Regions from separate parts of the Homo sapiens genome. Here regions 1, 2 and 3 are each linked to region 4. The links are contacts of gene promoters, found by promoter capture Hi-C in blood cells and fetal thymus (Javierre and others, 2016). All regions are on one chromosome and are shown on one strand. The core of a region is centred on a gene start or on the middle of the fragment in contact, and the rest is flanking DNA. Distances in the headings are between cores, read along the strand shown. Region 1 holds the start of TIMMDC1 (translocase of inner mitochondrial membrane domain containing 1). Region 2 overlaps COX17 (cytochrome c oxidase copper chaperone COX17). Region 3 holds the start of B4GALT4 (beta-1,4-galactosyltransferase 4). Region 4 holds the start of RABL3 (RAB, member of RAS oncogene family like 3).

Evidence for each region. Contacts are between HindIII fragments. The CHiCAGO score rates a contact against its expected background, and 5 or more counts as called.
Region 1: the fragment with the promoter of TIMMDC1 here is called in contact with the fragment with the promoter of RABL3 in region 4 in 5 of 17 cell types (neutrophils, non-activated CD4 T cells, total B cells and 2 more); the score reaches 9.7 in neutrophils.
Region 2: a fragment that was not itself captured here is called in contact with the fragment with the promoter of RABL3 in region 4 in 1 of 17 cell types (total B cells); the score reaches 5.1 in total B cells.
Region 3: a contact is called between the fragment with the promoter of B4GALT4 here and the fragment with the promoter of RABL3 in region 4, in 1 of 17 cell types (monocytes). The highest score is 6.5, in monocytes.

The regions. Positions count from the first base shown.
Region 1 is chr3:119,497,231-119,502,064 of GRCh38, forward strand. TIMMDC1 (translocase of inner mitochondrial membrane domain containing 1) reads left to right here and starts at 1,317. Exons shown (of 7, transcript NM_016589.4): 1 at 1,317-1,697; 2 at 3,465-3,630. The coding sequence starts at 1,504. RefSeq lists an enhancer at 1,057-1,106. The HindIII fragment of the contact is 2,873 bases long and covers 1-1,841 here.
Region 2 is chr3:119,672,643-119,677,262 of GRCh38, forward strand. It overlaps COX17 (cytochrome c oxidase copper chaperone COX17), which reads right to left. Exons shown (of 3, transcript NM_005694.2): 1 at 4,562-4,620; 2 at 2,503-2,591. The coding sequence ends at 2,507. Among named protein-coding and RNA genes, the nearest start is that of COX17, 2.5 kb to the right of the region's middle. The HindIII fragment of the contact is 1,750 bases long and covers 2,496-4,245 here.
Region 3 is chr3:119,239,628-119,244,360 of GRCh38, forward strand. It overlaps B4GALT4 (beta-1,4-galactosyltransferase 4), which reads right to left and starts at 1,251. Exons shown (of 8, transcript NM_003778.4): 1 at 1,223-1,251. The region is part of intron 3 of B4GALT4-AS1 (B4GALT4 antisense RNA 1); the gene reads left to right. RefSeq lists silencers at 938-1,417, 2,068-2,117. The HindIII fragment of the contact is 11,429 bases long and covers 1-1,953 here.
Region 4 is chr3:120,739,611-120,743,873 of GRCh38, forward strand. RABL3 (RAB, member of RAS oncogene family like 3) reads right to left here and starts at 2,906. Exons shown (of 8, transcript NM_173825.5): 1 at 2,852-2,906. The coding sequence starts at 2,897. GTF2E1 (general transcription factor IIE subunit 1) reads left to right here and starts at 3,134. Exons shown (of 5, transcript NM_005513.3): 1 at 3,134-3,184. RefSeq lists enhancers at 2,167-2,805, 2,637-2,926, 2,806-3,444, 2,892-3,186, 3,067-3,186. The HindIII fragment of the contact is 8,742 bases long and covers 1,275-4,263 here.

The DNA.
Region 1 (4,834 bases), core at 67-2,566, 1.2 Mb before region 4:
CAGTAATCCAGAGCCAGAAGTCAGGAGATCTGAATTATTCAACAAATATTTACTGAGCACCTACTGCGGTTCTAGGTCCTGGAGATACAGAGATGAATATATTTGGTCTGTGATCTCAAGGATAGTTTATTGAGACAGATTAATAGGAAATTATGATGCAGTGTTGTAAGTGCTACGATGAGTGCTGAATCAAATCTCATATCCCAGAGTAGTCTTCATGGCGCTGTCACTAATTGAGCTGGTCACTCTAGTCAGTCACTTCTCAGGGACTTATGTGTAGCATTTCCAGCTATCAAATTCCTAAGTCCACTTACTGTATTCTACTACAGTGTGGCAGTTTTGATTGACAACTAGAAAGGAATCAAGGAGGTGAAGGGATTGGCAAAATGAATAAGGGAGTATGCTTGTTAACAAGGATTGAATGAAATTACACGAATATTGAGAATATTTTAAATGCATTCATTTTAATGAAAACTGTACTTCGAAGCATATGTTAGCAGAGGTTGTAGTGACGGCAAATTATACAAACACTTGATAGAAATTCCAGAAATTCTCCTGCCTTTTGAGAAGCAGTAGGCATATGAACTAAAGGGAGTGAAATCCACCTTAGGAAGACCTGCCAAAAAGCTGATTCTTCAAAAAAGTGTTCTCGAAATCTTAGTGTAACTGGCACCAACACCCATCCCCAATGCCTCGTTTTTTTTCCAGCAGAACTGACAAGGTACAAACGGACCCCGCCCAGCCTGGAAGGCTTCTCTAATGTTGGCAGAGTAGGTTGGACTTGTTTTTGCACAAATCGCCTTTCCCTCTTTCCCTACTCCACTTGCACTGAATATTGCACTTTCTTCCTTACTGAAGCGGGATTCCTGCCTTTTTTTTTTTTTTTTGAGACAGATTTTCGCTCTTGTTGCCCAGGCTGCAGTGCAGTGGTGTGATCTCGGCTCACTGCAACCTCCGCCTCCCGGGTTCAAGCGATTCTCCTACCTCAGCCTCCCGAGTAGCTAGGATTACAGGCGCCCGCCACCATGCCCGGCTAATTCCTGGCATTTTAAATACGATAAATTACTTCAACCTATGACCACCTCAAGCTGAATATAAGTAGCCGCAGACACCGTTTGCATGACCCAGGAACCACAAACACGGAGCGAAGGCCTGCCGGGACCACGCTGAGCTTCACTACTGGCAGCCAACTCACTTCCGGGGGTGCACTCAGCACAGCAGTGGCCCAACCCGCCCTCAACCGGAAGTCTTTTGGGCTCCGGCTTCGCCGTCGCCCCGCCCCCTGGCCTTTGCCCCGGTCGGGCGGGACTTCCTGTGTCGTATTTCCAAGGACTCCAAAGCGAGGCCGGGGACTGAAGGTGTGGGTGTCGAGCCCTCTGGCAGAGGGTTAACCTGGGTCAAATGCACGGATTCTCACCTCGTACAGTTACGCTCTCCCGCGGCACGTCCGCGAGGACTTGAAGTCCTGAGCGCTCAAGTTTGTCCGTAGGTCGAGAGAAGGCCATGGAGGTGCCGCCACCGGCACCGCGGAGCTTTCTCTGTAGAGCATTGTGCCTATTTCCCCGAGTCTTTGCTGCCGAAGCTGTGACTGCCGATTCGGAAGTCCTTGAGGAGCGTCAGAAGCGGCTTCCCTACGTCCCAGAGCCCTATTACCCGGAATCTGGATGGGACCGCCTCCGGGAGCTGTTTGGCAAAGAGTAAAAGTGCCTAGGGTGTGAAGTGGGGTAGGGGGCCGCGAAAGCGGTGTCCTGCAGCGTGGGCAGCCTGGGTCAGCCTTAGGACACCAAGGATGGTGTGCTTCATTTTTAGATTATATTTGAGGTTCTGATATTTGTAACCCAAGCTTGTATCTTTTTTCTTTCTTTTTTTTTTTTTTTTTTCCAGACAGGGTCTTGCTCTGTCGCCCAGGCTGGAGTGCTGTGGTGCTATCTCGGCTCACTGCAACCTCTGCCTCTGGGACTCAAGTGATCCTCCCACCTCAGCCTCCCGATTAATTGGGACTACAGGCGCGCACCACCACGCCCGGCTAATTTTTTTTTAATGTATTTTTTATAGACAGGGTTCTTACCATGTTGCCTAGGCTGGTCTTGAACTCTTGGACTTAGGCGATCCGCCTACCTCGGCCTCCCAAAGTGCTGGGATTACAGGCGTGAGCCACCGCGCCAGCCCAAACTCGTATTTTTCTTTCTTTTTTTTTTTTTTTTCGAGACTGAGTCGCGCTCTATCGCCCAGGCTGGAGTGCAGTGGTGCGATCTTGGCTCACTGCACTCTTCACTTCCCAGGTTCAAGCGGTTCTCCTGCCTCAGCCTCCAGAGTAGCTGGGATTACAGTTGCCCACTACCATGCCCAGCTAATTTTTGTATTTTTAGTAGAGACAGGATTTCACCATTCGCCAGGCTGGTCTGGAACTCCTGACCTCACGTGATCTGCCTGTTTCCGCCTCCCAAAGTGCTGGGATTACAGGCCTGAGCCACCGCGGCTGGACTGCGCCCGGCCTAGAAGGGCAATTATTTTATAGTAACTTAATACTTAAGACAGCTATTTGTTAGAGCAGTCTCAGGATGACATCTTGGAAGCTTCATTAGCAGTTCTAGCTTCTTATGCATTTGAGAGTAACAAATCGAATTAAATAGTAGTTTTTCCTTGTTATTTTAGATTGGCATGTGCCACCCACTGCATAGTGAACTTTCCCAGTGCGTTTTTAAAAAAACATTTATTTGTTTATTTTTAGAGCCAGGATCTTTGCTATGTTGCTATGCTGGATTTGAACTCGGGCTCAAGTCCTACCTCAGCCTCCTAAGTTAGCTGTGACTACAGGCGTGTGCTACTGTGCCCAGCCCAGTGCTTTTATTAGTACAGTCCTATCTGAGTATTTCATGAAATTATTTAGTAAAATAGAATTTAGATTTTTTGTCTTACATCCACGTTTTTATTCTTTCATACATTGCCCTAAAATCTCACGAGTTGGTGTGATTTCTAAAAGTTAACTTAAGATTTAAACGGAAATATTGGTCTCTCTATCCAACTCACAAATTCTTCCTATTTCTAGGGGTGTAATAGTCATCAAAAGCACCTTTTAAAAAACTTTTTATTGGAGTAGGAAATGCATTTCGAAAAATGTGCCTAAGTATACTGATGGATGAATTTTCACAAACTGAACATAGCTGTACCCAGCACTAAGAAAGAAATGGCAACTATTGTAACATCCCAAAAGCTCCCCTTGTGCCTTTTCCGGTCATTGTCTTTTCAGGAGTTGCCACTATCCTAATTCTAACACCATAGCTTCGTTTTGTCTGAGACTACGTTCCTTTTAATATAACTGAACTGTTTAATTCATCTGAGAATTCTACCTATGATGAAAAATGTTGTGGTGGTAGCATTTGGGTTAATTCTGATTATAGAGTCTCTTGGAGAGCAATGTCCATAAACTAATCCCAAACAACATTGTCTTTTTGATGTTGTAGTGAACAGCAGAGAATTTCAAAGGACCTTGCTAATATCTGTAAGACGGCAGCTACAGCAGGCATCATTGGCTGGGTGTATGGGGGAATACCAGCTTTTATTCATGCTAAACAACAATACATTGAGCAGAGCCAGGCAGAAATTTATCATAACCGGTTTGATGCTGTGGTATGTACTGGTGATCTAAAGAAATTTGGGGCACACTGACTTAGTAATTCACTTTACACTTAATCATTCAATTAGGTTGTGGGGATGGAGGGTTGTTTTAAGGTGTCAGAGTAAAGAAATAAAGTCTGTACTTAATAACAGTGGAAGTACTAATGTTAAAGTGCCTGCATGTTGTTTGAGAGACTACTTTGTTATCTTCAGAACAGGCATGTTTGGCATCACCACTGTGGCTTTTCTTTCTCAAATACATTTCTTCCAATCCCCTGCTAAATCGTCAAGGCTCAGCTGTAACATATTTACCTCATTCACAAAGCCTCCATGAGTATAGGAGCTCACACTAAAGCAATAGTTAACATTTATAACTTTATAGAGTGCTAACTCGTTTGTTACATCATTAGATCTGTACATCAGTTCTTTTGTGAGAATATTAAAGCTCAGAGAATTTTTAACTTTTTATTTTGAAATTATAGCAGGCTTGAAAGTTGCAAAACTAGTACAAAGATTTCCTATATACCTTTCATCCGGATTCTCCATTGTTAACATTTTACCATGTTTGTTTTATCATTCTCCCTCTGTATAATATGTACTAATTTGTTCTGAGCTACTTGACAGTAGGTTATAGACATGATGAATACTTCAGTGTGTTATTTCCTAAAAACAAGGAAATTCTCTTATACAACCACAATTATAATATCAAGATCAGGAAATTAACACAGATATAGTACTATTATCTTATTTAAAGACCTGTAAATTTTGCTAGTTATCCCACAGTATCATTTATTTTAAAAATAAATAAAAAAATGTATTTTTCAGAAGTTAGGCTTGAGTTCTTATTAAAAAATTAATTAATTAAATTTTTTTTTGTCTGGTCCAGAATCTGACCCTGGATCACATGTTGAATTTGCCTGTTATGCTGCTTTGGTCTCATTTAGTCTGGAAGAGTTTCTCTGTTTTTGTCTTTCATGGCCTTGACTATGGGTGATTTATTTTGTAGAATGTCCCTCAATTTGGGTTTGTTTGATGGTTTCTCATGACTGCATTCAGACTATGTTTTTTGACAGGAATACCCTAGAACTGAAATTAAATTAGAAACCCATGATATCTCTGTCCCTTTACTGGTGATGTTTACTTCAGTGACTTGCTTAAGATGGCCTCTGCCAACTATACACTGTAAAATTACTATGTTTTTCCTTGGTAATTTATA
Region 2 (4,620 bases), core at 2,121-4,620, 1.1 Mb before region 4:
TTTATAAAATAGTTCATTATGGGATTTCTTTAAATAACCATCTATTCTAAAAGCAACTTAAGTATATCATTTACACAACAGTAGATATACCATACTATATATAGAATCACAAAATGTATTATGGTTCTCTTTTTATAAATAATAAGTGAAATTCAGAGGAGTAATGTCTTGATGAAGCTAAATGTAGCTAAACTTAAAAACATGATAAACTAAACATCAGGAGAATAAAAACAAAGCCTCAGGACTTTCAGCCTAGACTGTTTTCCATTACACAGTAACTTCTTATCAGCTTGCGACAAGTTCCTTATCCCTCCTTTTTTATAGCTCAGTGAGGAAGACTGGCCATATGTGAAATTCCAAAGAGGCAGGAAAGAGGTGCAAGGGAAAGAAGCCAGGCTCTCTAGTACTAATATATTGGCATATGGCTTTGGCATTCTCTCTCAGCTGTTATTAAGTTAAAAGTGGTAGTGTGGTGTGGAAGTTAGGGTAGGGGCAAAAAGCAGAGGGAATCGGCATGGAGACTGAGGCTCCAGTTCTGATACTGCACAACCCACCTTGGGGGCCATTTCATAACTATAAGCTTTAATTTCCTTATTTATTCATTCATTTAACAATCCTCCATTAAGCACCTACTATGAGCCAGGCACTGTTATAGGTAGTGGGGATATGACAGTAAATGAAATAGAAAATTCCTACTTTCTCAGAGCTTACATTCTAGCTGCCGTGAAGCAACACAGGTAATTAAAAATATATGTATCATGCAGGTGACAGTGTATAGAATAGAGTAGCCACTAGCCACATGTAGCTATTAAAATTTTTACAAACTAAAAATTCAGTACCTCACTCTCACCAGCCACAATTCAAGTGCTCAACAGCCACATATGGCTAGTGGCTACCAGACTGGCAAGTGCAGATACAGAGCATTTCCATCTTCACAGAAAGGTCTTAGGACAGCACCATGATAGAGTGATGGGGAAGGGATGTAATTTACATGGGGTGTTGAGGGAAAGCCTCTCTAATAAGGAGACTTTTGAAAGAGACCTGAGTAAAGAGGGAGTGGGGTGAGGGGGTGAGCTAAGTTGATAACTGAAGAAAGAGCTTCCAAACAAAAGAGTATCATTTGTTTGTGGAATTGTTGGACACATACCACTTAAGGTCCCTTTCAGCACTTAAAATGGGTTAAGAGTTCCAAGTTCTTTTAAAAATGGCCTGAGGCCCACCGCCCTGTCTGGGATGTCAGGAGTGCCACTGCCCGGCTGCCCACTGTCTGGGAAGTGAGGAGTACCTCTGTCCGGCCACCCCGTCTGGGAAGTGAGGTGCCTCTCCGCCTGGCCACCACCCCATCTGGGAAGTGAGGTGCCCCTCTGCCCGGCTGCTGCCCCGTCTGGGAAGTGAGGAGCGCCTCTGCCCAGCTGCTGCCCCGTCTGGGATGTGAGGAGCGCCTCTGCCCAGCTGCCGCCCTGTCTGGGATGTGAGGAGCGCCTCTGCCTGGCCGCCCCACCGTCTGGGAAGTGTGGAGCGTCTCTGCCCAGCTGCCCACTGTCTGGGAAGTGAGGAGTGCCTCGGCCCGGCTTCTGCCCTGTCTGGGAAGTGAAGAGCACCACTGCCCGGCTGCCCCACGTCTGGGAAGTGAGGAGCACCTCTGCCCGGCCGCTGTGCAACCTTCCAAGTGTGAAGTGACAGCCTTGTGTGTGATCTTTTCTGTCTTCCCCAAGTTTGCATTTTTGACATTAAAGTTTACTTTTTAATTAAAAAAAAAATGGCCTGAGGCTTTAGTTTTATTCGAATAAAGCATGCTACAATTCCATTTTCATTTTTCAGAAAGCAATACTTCCGTGGGATACCCACTCCCTACTTAAAAGCATTTCTTGGCCAGGCATAGTGGCTCACACCTCTTAATCCCAGCACTTTGGGAGACCAAGGCAGGAGGATTGCCTGAGTCCAAGAGGTTGAGACCAGCCTGGGCAAGATGGTGAAACCCCATCTCTAAAAAACAACACAAAAAATTAGCCAGGCACGGTGGCCCACACCTGTAGTCCCAGTTACTTAGGAGGCTGAGGGGAGGATCACCTGAACCTCCCAGGTTGAGGCTGCAATGAGCTGTGATTGGGCCACTTCACCCCAGCCTGGGTAACAGAGTGAGACCCTGTCTCAAAAAAAAAAAAAAAAAAGCATTTACTGAAGTCCCACAATATTTATTAGAAACAAGAAAGAGAATATGTTTCTTTTAGTTCCCTCAGTCAATTTTCCTAAAGCCATGGGACCTAAAGGCTTTTGTCAAACCCTTTCTTAAAAGCTCAATTCTCCCCTTCCCCAATCCGCTAAATGACTGTCTTTACTGACATAATTTACTCCCTTCATTGGGAACTGAAAAATCATGGTTTTTTCAAATTGATACTTAAGCATTTTAGATTAACCAGGTGAACTACCTTTCAGAGAGAATGTAGCCCAATTGTTGCTAAATCTGTAAAGCAATACACAACTTTGAAGCAAGAAGCTTACCATTTCATATTTTAAATCCTAGGGCTCTCATGCATTCCTTGTGGGCCTCAATTAGATGTCCACAGTGTTCTTCTCCTTTCTCGATGATACTATAAAACAAAATGTACTTGTTATCTAAATATGCATTAAGCACATTATTAAGTATGCATGATAGTGATGGGGAGTGAGACAAAACACGGGTATAATGGAATGTAGCTGGAATTAAAACAAACGCTATTACCTCAAACAGCTTTGTTTTTATTTGATCTTATGATATGCCCATGCCTATGAAGACATTCCACAGATAAGTGATTTTGGGGGGGAAATCTGATAAGAAATAATCACGCATATTAAATATTGCCTCTAGTCAATATCCAAGGAGTAACACTGCTCTATAAAGAAATAAACTGAGTAAAATATTTATGCTAAATGAAGGGCACAGAGAACAGCTCAATTTTTTGCTTATTATCACAGAGAAATTAACTTTCTGATTTTGCCCTACATTCAAACACAACCAAATAAATCTACTTCTAATTACATCAAAAACATCTGGTAGCCAGGAGACCGAGATAAACACCCCCTCATGATGATCAAAGAATATTTTACTTGTAAAATTCACAAAGTAAAGACTAGGACTACACAGCTTTATTTCTAAGGCCTGAAAATGTGATTTTGCAAATAATCAAGTTAAGCCCAATTCAATTACAAGGAAAAACTGACTCCTGACTATGGATATTTGGGGAGAACCCACGTGGTCTGAGGCAATCGAGGCAAAGGGAATTTAACAAAGGGAATAGGTTCTCCTTCCATGGAAACTCTACCCATCCTTCAATAGCTCAAGAGCTGCCTGCAAATGGGAGATTGCCTGGGATAGTGAGATCATTGTGAAGATAATAGCTAGCATTCATTGATCATTTATTGCCATGTATACTGTGTTAGCCACTTGACATGGCTTGTATCATTAACCTTTACAATAATACTGGAGGGAGTTTCTTTTATTAGAGTCATTTTACAGACACATGAGGCTCAAGGTCACCAAGTTAGTGGATTAAGATTCAAACCTTGACTGTGGATCCCAGACTCTTAATCATGCTGTCATACCATTCAAGGTTCAACAGCACTTACTGTTACCACTGGAACAATTTGTTCAGACTAGTCTTTCAATCCTACCCGTATTATTTACAAAGTACTGAGGATTAATAAAAGCACTGAGCTCCTACACTCTTATTATCCCATTATACCACTAATGATTTCTTTCTTATATCTACTATCTGGGAAGACAAAAGGGGCCAGAGGAAGAGATGCACATTCACGTTATCTGAGGACGTCCTCTAATGAGATTTGCTCCACAAGAGAGGCTATATAAAATGAGAACAAATCTTTTGTGGATTGACAATCTAGATGAACTATTCTTAATACTTTGTCCCCTGCGTCGTAGACTGATTGATTTTCAACTTTTGGTTGTCTTAAAAGGGTTGAAGCGTAACTCTTCAGAACTGTAAGGAATACACTCTGTGTCCTACTGTCTCTAAATTTTGGGAGAAAGCCTTAGAAATTACCAGAAAACCTTTCCTGTTTGGTCTTAACAAATCTATCATAGCCCTTACCACGTCGTATACAAGTCACTGGTTTATGTCTCCATTAACTTTAAGCTCCTTTATATCAAGATGCATCTTTATCCATGTCTACATCTTCGGACCTAACGCAGTGCTTAACCCATAACAGATACTCAACACACATTTGTAGGAAGGAATGAGTGGTTGAAGCTTGCCGTTCTCCTCTCTCTCCATCGTTTCCCGGTACTAAGCTACGGGATAAGTCAACAGAGACCCGACCACGAAACCTACAAGGCCCAATAATTATCTCCAGAGCGCCGCAATGGGGCGGGGCGGGGCGGGGCGGGGGGGGGGGGCAGACAGGGAGGAGGAGTGGGGGAAGGGGGGAAGGAAGAGGGCAGAGGGCAGAAGGCAGAGGGCAGAGGGCAGAAGGCAGAGGGCAGAGGCCGTAGGGCAGAGGCACCGGAAGGCACAGGCCGCGGCCCGGGGCTCGTCGGCCGCGCCCTCTCCGGCTGCGCACTGACCACGCATCGCGCGCCTTCTTGGTCTCCGGGCAAGCGCAGCAGGGCTTCAGCGGCTTCTT
Region 3 (4,733 bases), core at 1-2,500, 1.5 Mb before region 4:
TCTATCCACTTCCCCTTAGATTATGTAGTCAAACAGTTCAATCCAGGTCAGTACTTTTTCACAACGTATGTTTTCAATCTGATCAAAGCTATAGGTAGACGAAAGTTATTGCAATTTCATGGGGTTTACAATTTCCATAAAGAACAAACCTGCTCTAGAAGACAAAATTCCAAAAACTTCTGAACTATATCCAATCAAGCATTATCTCCTCTCCCAAGAGAGACCTTCCAGCACTCCCCGCCTGGGTCTCGGGAATAGCCCTCCCTTCTGAATCCCAGTTTCTCAATCCGGACCCTGAATCCTATTCATCCTGATCTCTCCTTGATTTTCTTGCATCTTAAAGGTGTTATTTTCCTTTCTTTAAAAATTTAAAAAAAAAAAAAAAAGCCACAACTCGCCTCCACGCTCAGATTACCATTTTCTTTTTCCTCCTTTTCATCACCAAACGGCTGAGGAGGTCTACCAGTACCCTCACCACCGCCACGTCCCCATCCCTCACCCACTCTGGAACACTTTGCAACAGTGTGCACACCCACCCACTGTTGATAACTACTCTCCTAAGGCTACCAACCCATAGGCCTCTCCTCGATGCAGAGTCCTTTGGACTTTGTCTGTTTTTTTTCAAACCAAGAATTAACAGCCCTTATCTAATGGAAGACAGAACATCAAGGGATACAGATCAACAAACACTGGATGGCTGTCTCCGAAGTCTTTTATAATCCAGGTGACCAACCCCTTTGGAGAAAGGTCAAAGGTCGCCGGCCCCTCGCAGGACTGGGGCTGGTGTCAGCTGATCAGTTTCCCCGTTGAAACGCTGGAGAAGGAGGGTTTCCAGGAAGAAGGGGCTTTTTCAGGTTGATGCACCCGGCGGAGAAGTGCTGGGGGCGACCCCGGAATCGTGACCTGGGGTATGAATGAGCCCTGGATTTTTTCCTACCCGGCAGCACCTCGTCTGGCTCCCCCGGCCCGCAGCAGAGGCGGCGCCGCGCGGAACGCCAGCACCTGAGCCGGTGCCTCCCGCCAGGCTCGGCCTCCGTAGGCCCCCGGCCCGGCCCACCGCTCCGGCTGAGGCGGGACTGCCCCACGGACGCCGCCACGTCATCCCCACGCCCGCCCCGCTACAGCCCTGGGACTGACCCCGGCCGTCGCCCGGCTACCCTCGCACGGCGCCCGTGTCCAGGGAACTGCATTTCCCGGGCGCCGGCGGAGCCAGCGTACTCACCCCGGAGGCGGCCGCGGCGAGCTAGCACTGCCCGCGGAGAGGGGAGAACGCGGAAAGCAGCTCGGGGACCGCCCCAGCCGCCCGGGAGGCGGCTCTTGAGTACGAGCTCCGCCTCCCGCCTTGGCCGGAGAGGCTGGTCCGCCCGGCTCTGCACGCGCCTGGCGCTCCACCCCCGCCAAATCGACCACACCGGGCGCTGGAAGGAGCACCGGGAGGGAAACGGAGGGTTGACGCCTCGGCCTCTGGGTGGCTTTAAAACCCTGTGCCAATAGTAGACTGGGTGCTGAGCGCTTCCCAAATTCCATCCCCTTAAATACTCACAAAGCAGTAGGAAAGAGATAGGGACCCTTCCATTTTACAGAGTGGGAAACTGAGACTTTAGAGAGGCTAATAAACTTAATCACCCTGCGAGATTTCAGCCCTCTCAACTGCAAAAATGATAATAATAATAATAATATTTTTCCCATGTTGCAGGTCTGAGAATATTAAATGATTTTTTTAAATCCGTATTTCTTCAAAGATATTATTACAGAAAGCAAAGACAATTATATTTACACTAAAGATTTGAGTGAAAAATTATGGTAGGCTCTGTTTAGGCAGTCAGGATAGCTAGATTCTCTAATGCAGTCTCCCACTGCACTCACGGGAAAGTAGTAGATTCTCCAAGAACCACACATCCACTCCACCCAAAAAGGAACAAACCATAGCTAGAGCCAGTGCTGGGCTCATTAAGCTTCATAGCAGGAAATCTGAGGCTATACTGAGGCCGCATAGGCCCAATGTAGGCCCTTGGAAGCTGGAAAAGAGGGCCACCTAGTGGCAGTTGAGGATAGGTCAGTGAAATAGGTCAACACTGCTCCTGAACAAGGTCCAGTGTGAAACTTATTTTTTTGTGTTCCCTTTGTAACATGCTGTAAGGGTGTATAACCACATTTAGTGAAAAAGGACATTACTGGATTTCATCCAGTGGCGTTATACAATCAGTTACTTATACCCACATAGTCCCCAGGTCTTGAGCATATGATGCCTGGAAGCATAATATATACCTTTTGCAAGAATCACTCAGCTTTTCCCCTCCCCCTCCCCCTCTCTGTCTCCCTCCCCATCTCCCTCCCCCCTTTGCACGGTCCTCGTCTCCCCTTTGCATGGTCTCCCTCTGATGCCGAGCCGAGGCTGGACTGTACTGCCGCCATCTCGGCTCACGGCAGCCTCCCTGCCTGATTCCCCTGCCTCAGCCTGCCGAGTGCCTGGGATTGCAGGCGCGCACCGCCACACCTGACTGGTTTTCGTATTTTTTGGTGGAGACGGGGTTTCGCCGAGTTGGCCGGGCTGGTCTCCAGCTCCTGACCGCGAGTGGTCTGCCAGCCTCGGCCTCCCGAGGTGCCGGGATTGCAGACGGAGTCTCGCTCACTCAGTGCTCAATGTTGCCCAGGCTGGAGTGCAGTGGCTTGATCTCGGATCGCTACAACCTCCACCTCCCAGCCGCCTGCCTTGGCCTCCCAAAGTGCCGAGATTGCAGCCTCTGCCCTGCTGCCACGCCGTATAGGAAGTGAGGAGCGTCTCTGCCTGGCCGCCCATCATCTGGGATGTGGGGAGCCCCTCTGCCCAGCCGCCCAGTCTGGAAAGTGAGGAGCGCTTCTTCCCGGCCGCCACCCCGTCTAGGAAGTGAGGAGCGTCTCTGCCTGGCCGCCCATCATCTGGGATGTGGGGAGCGCCTCTGCCCCACCACCCCGTCTGAGAGGTGAAGAATGCCTCTGCCCGGCGGCGACCCGTCTAGGAACTGAGGAGTGTCTCTGCCCCGCCGCCACCCCGTCTGGGAGGTGAGGAGCGTCTCTGACTGGCCGCCCTGTCTGAGAAGTGAGGAGCCCCTCCGCCGGGCAGCTGCCTGGTCCGGGAGGTGGGGGGCAGCCGCCCAGCCAGCCGCCCCGCCCGGGAGGTGGGGGGGCAGCCCCCGCCTGGCCAGCCGCCCCGCCCGGCAAGTGGGGGGCAGCCCCCGCCCGGCCAGCCGCCCCGTCCGGGAGGTGGGGGGCGCCTCTGCCCAGCCGCCGCCCCGTCTGGGAGGTGGGGGCCCCTCTGCCCGGCCGCCGCCCCGTCTGGGAGGTGGGGGGCCCCTCTGCCCGGCAGCCCCGTCTGGGAAGTGAGGAGCCCCTCTGCCCGGCCACCACCCTGTCTGGGAGGTGTACCCAACAGCTCATTGAGAACGGGCCATGATGACGATGGCGGTTTTGTCCAATAGAAAAGGGGGAAATGTGGGGAAAAGAAAGAGAGATCAGATTGTTATTGTGTCTGTGTAGAAAGAAGTTGACATAGGAGACTCCATTTTGTTCTGTACTAGGAAAAATTCTTCTGCCTTGGGATGCTGTTAATCTATAACCTTACCCCCAACCCCCTGCTCTCTGAAACATGTGCTGTGTCCACTAAGGGTTAAATGGATTAAGGGCAGTGCAAGATGTGCTTTGTTAAACAGATGCTTGAAGGCAGCGTGCTCGCTAAGAGTCATCACCACTCCCTAATCTCAACTACCCAGGGACACAAACACTGCGGAAGGCGGCAGGGCCCTCTGCCTAGGAAAACCAGAGACCTTTGTTCACATGTTTATCTGCTGACCTTCCCTCCACTATTGTCCTATGACCCTGCCAAATCCCCCTCTCCGAGAAACACCCAAGAATGATCAATAAATACTAAAAAAAAAATAAATTTAAAAAAAAAAAAGAGAATGTAGGCCAACAATAAGCCACAGGATAACATCTCTGTCTGCCCAAATCACATTATGCTGAGGAAGTTTAATAATAAAGGAGAATAATAAAGGAGCCAAGCAAGTTAATCTAAAAAAAAAAAAAAAAAAGAATCACTCAGCTTTTCTATATTTGGTAGCTGGTAGGTTATTAATTGGAGAAGTTGGGTTATTGCTTTCAGTAAGTGTAGGAAAGCAAGTAGCAGTGATATCTACAAAATTAAAGATAGCTTTCCAATCTGCTTTTGAGGTTTTAGGGTGGCTTTCATTTCACAGAGAGGCATTGGCATTAATAAAATTGTTTCCTAGGGGTTTTTTTTTTGGCATCAGTCCAGAAACCCAACAGTTGCTCTAGTTTTTCTTGTTAGAGCATGAGCCTTAGCTAAAGCCATCTATAAATTATGGTCCCATGGATTTCCCAGCAGGAAATATGGAAAAAATAGAAAAAAAGATAAGATAGTCATGATAGCAGAGAAGTCTTGATCCATGATCTTGAGAAAGCTGTCCATGTCTAGGATGCCATCTGCTTCTGGGGAGAAACTTCCCTACCTTAAGATCTCCAACAGGTGTATAATTCCAAGAGTTTGAAGGGGCTCTTTTGAGTTACAAGGTATGGACCAAAACTCGAGGCCCTGAAGTTTTACTGTGGGTGGTGAGAGAAGTACATGATATAATCTCTTCTAATGGGATACAAGAGCAGTTTTTCTCAGATGGGATGTTATTTCCAGAAGACTCAATCTCTGAGTTCTAGATTGTGAAAGGTTGGTTGTACTCAGT
Region 4 (4,263 bases), core at 1,656-4,155:
AAACATTTTCTCAGGCTTCCCTTTTATTACTTTTTTTATATAGAAACATTTAAGATTTTTAAATACTCAAAATTATATTTGTCATTGAATTTACTGCATTGTGTCTAATATCTGTAACTTTTAGGATGTATTGTTGATTCTGTATTTGTAAATAGGTTTGTTTATGTTCAAGGAATGTATCTATCCACTTAATTATCAGCTTGATGCAACACTTGAGGCCTAGTTTAGCTTAATTGTGTTAGGGTAAACATTTCCAGGCAGTAGAATTGTATAGCTCTCCATGAATTAACTGCTTTGGGTGATAAGTATTAGCTAAGAAGGGATGAAACCCTAAACAGTAAGAACAGTTGAAGTGCTAGGGAATAATGGCGAATTTCATTTCTTTAAGAATTTTGGGAGATTCTGATTCTATGTTTTCACCTTTAGAACTAAATTTGATCAAAAGAATGCACTTGATTTGCTTGGGGGTAAAAAAGGCCCAATATAAATAAATGTCAGCTCCAAATACAGCTGTTTGGTAATATGTTAAACTAGTCCCTAATCTCTGAAAGAAAGAGAAAACCGTATGGTAGTGAGACTTTCAGGGTTCCTTACCAAATTACCAAATATCTCAATAGGATAAAAACAAATCACCAAATATCAACTTATTCTTTTTATTTTTTTTTCTTGGAGACAGGGTCTCACTCTATCACCCAGGCTAGAGTGCAGTGGCACGATCCTAGCTCACTGCAGCCTCAAATTCCTGGGCTCAAGTGATCTTCTCACCTCAGCCTCCTGAGTAGCGGGACTACAGGCGTGCACCACCATGCCCGGCTAACTTTCTGTACTGTTTTTGGTAGAGAGAGGGTCTTGCCATGTTGCCCAGGCTAGTCTTGAACTGAGCTCAAGCAATCCACCCGCCTCAACCTCCCAAAGTGCTGGGATTATAGGCTAGAGCCACCTTGTCTGGCTAAGTCATTTCTTTATATATTTGTGAAACCCTCAAAATTTTATAAGGGAAATGGCCTTTATTTAAAAATAAACTTTCGGGTTTGAAAGAAAGGCTGAGGAAGTGTAAAAAGTGCATTCTAAACTGTCAGACTGTGTACTTTTAAATCGCAGTTAAAAGGAGACTGACAAAATTACCTTTTAAAAAGATAAAAAGACAATAACTAACTTTGCACATAAAGGTTAACATTAGTGAATGTGTGACAACATCAATCACTTTCCTGGCCATCACAGCTGTGTCTTCTGCTTTACAACTAAACCATAACAGGGGAGGCGGGCAGTAGGGAAGCTTATCAATTGCCTGATTACTTTTCCACATTTAATGTAGCTGCTAATTCTATCCCTGTTATATGACGCATTAATTCCACAGTTATAACCCCAGAACCTAATACAGTGCCTGTTGGAAAGAAAATAAATTGACTAGTTGCAACAGTTTGTAATATGAAGGGATTGTTAGATACAATAGAAAATGGAATTATAAAGGACACAAAACACCCACTTAACGTATCATGAAGAAGTCTGTTAGTTCTGGATTGTAAATTCTACTCAGTGATACTCTTGCCAAGTCCCTTTAGGCCACAATTACTTTATCTGTAAAACTGAGTGATTTTATTAAATTAACTTCGGCACCACTTCAAGCTACCTGATAGAAATGAAGTCGACATAAATTGTGATTATGTTCATTAAGTTTCAAAAGGCAACTTTCTTAGGGGAATATTAAATAATGCTCTCTGTAAAATATTTCATAATGCAAATAATCCTCAGGGCAATGTGAAAACATTCTTAACCTATATTTGCTGCCCACAATTTTATTTAGTTTCTATTAAGTTTTCAAGCCTCTCCACCTCCAAGCATCTAGCACAACGTCTTTGCTCACAACACATGCTCTTAGGCCAACTCCAGAGGAGCGCTTCTATAAAATGCAAGGTCAGCATTTATTGAAGTTACTAAGGAGAGCTGAATTGGGGATTATGGAAGAAAAGATAAGGGCAGTGAGGTGGGAGCTGGAAATCCAGACGCCAGCTGTAGTTCTCAAATGTCCCAGGTGTCAAAAGAATTCTTTTTGCATCCACTGAGATTAAAAAAATATATATATATTTAACACTAGGATTAAATTGGGCTCAGCGTTAAATCCTAGCTGCTTCAGAATAAAACTCTTACTTTAATTTCTCTATTGTACAGTCTAGGACATAATAGGTTTTCAATGAAGATCAAACGAGAACCAGGAAATTAAGCTCAGTTAAGAATAAAACAGGACCACTACCCAATATGTCACTGCATAATTATAACTTAGCGTTTAAGTTCGTGGACTCCGCGTTCAAAAGGATTCTGTCATTTACATCTCTCTGCCTCACTACTCTCATCTGTAAAATGGGATAACAGGACTGTCTCAGAATTAAATGAGTTAATACATGCGAAGCGCTTGCCAGTGCACGTTTCTCAGTGCACGTTTCTCAGTGCACGTTTGACTTCCTTAATGAACAAAATCTCTTGAAGGCACGGTCCTACTAACTTCTGTACCCTTAACATAGAACCCCATACAATACTCAATGCCTGCTTTTTTTTTTTTTTTTTTTAATAAAAGAATTGACAATACACTCTAGGCTGGGGTCGCCTGGGAGACCGATGCGGAAAGCCGCGAAGGCAAAAGACCCGGGCTCCGCGACCCCCACCCGCGCGACGACGCCGCCGCCACCGCGTCGTCACACGGAGCAAAGTCCCCTGGGAAGTGTAGTCTTCAGGCCCTGGGAGGGACTTCAGCCACGGGCCGAGGAGCCAGGAAGTTGAGGGAAGGAAGCTAAGGGGAGGGTTACTGGGTAACTCAAAAGTGTCTGGAGCCCCAGAGGTAGGGTAAGCCGCTCACCTGAGTCTCCCAACACCAGTACCTTCACCCGATCCAGGGACGCCATCTTGCCACTGCCTTCCCTGGGTTAACGCCTGTTCCTGGATTGTAAGCCAATCAGAGTTGGGCATGGAGGGCAGAGCCTTCAATTTCATTGGCCACTCGGAGCGTGACTGTCTTGATCGAAGGTTTCACTGAACTCATTGGCTGGTCTGGTAAAAGGTAGCGGGGTGCTTCCCCAGCTGGTCGCAGGAATAGTGCGTTTTCTTTGTCGCGCAAGGGGCGTGGTTCATTTAAGCCGGTAGTTGAAGCGCTGGGGGCAGCTGTAGTGGGAGTGTTCCAGGATTCGCCTTGGTAAACCTTGTTCCCTGTTCCTTGTTCGGAGTTCCCTGGCCGGGCATTGCATTTCATGATTTCTTCTTCCTTTCGCTCCCTCTTAACTATCCTCCCCTAATGAATTACCCTGTTGCCTTGGTCCTCTTGGTCCTCCAAAGAACCATTGACCCCGGAGCGGCCCGTGTGCGACCTCGGGTAGGGCGGGCTTGGCTGCGCCGAGTGTGGCCCTGGACCCAACTGGGAGAGTCCGAGGGAGTTTGGGGTCTCGGAGTCTCGCATTGGGGAGGAGTGCATATCACCGAACGCGTCTCGTGGAGGGCAGCTGGGTCCGGAGGTTTCGCGGTAGTTTGCCGCTGTGTGTGTGAAGGCGTGGAAAGTGCCATGAAATGTGGTAACACAACACCGCAGTTAGATGTGTAGAATCCCAAGTTGTTCTAGAACTGGAGTGGCGATTTACTGAAGTAATCTAACTGGTCTCTTCGCATCCACTTTTCTTGTTTTTTTCTCCACTCTGCAGTCAGTACAATCTTTTAACATCCTGAATTTGATCCACGCACCTCCCGCTTAAAACTGTTTTAAATTTAAGAAGAGAGTGCCCAGTAGCCTGTCCGATTCTACCTTGGAAACAAGAGTGGAGGAAGTGAAGCAGGGGGAAGCTGGCAAGATGAGCCATGTTGGAACAAAACGTGCCTAGGAGACATATGGAAAGTTTTATGGAAGTACTTGTCTGGCTATGCTAGATGCTGGAAATTAATTGGTGAACAAGATGAAGTCTGGTCTTAGAGATAGACATGGAGAAAGTACAAGAAGGGGGAAAGAGCCATGGAACACGTGAAAGGGGATGATTGTATGCTACTTAATGGGGAGTCTGGGAAGGCCTCCATGAGGAAATATCATTTGAGACTTGAAGGATGATTAGGAGAAGGGGGTTTGGGCTTAGCTGTAGGGGCAGAAGGAACAGCATGTGCAAAGCCTTGGGATGCAGGGAAAGCACATGTGGCTCATGGAATTGAGAATATGCTGGTGTGGCTGGTTATGAGGCTGACAGGGTAGACAGAGGGCAGAGGGTGCCTTCTTTTCAACTTTGTTTCTCTGGC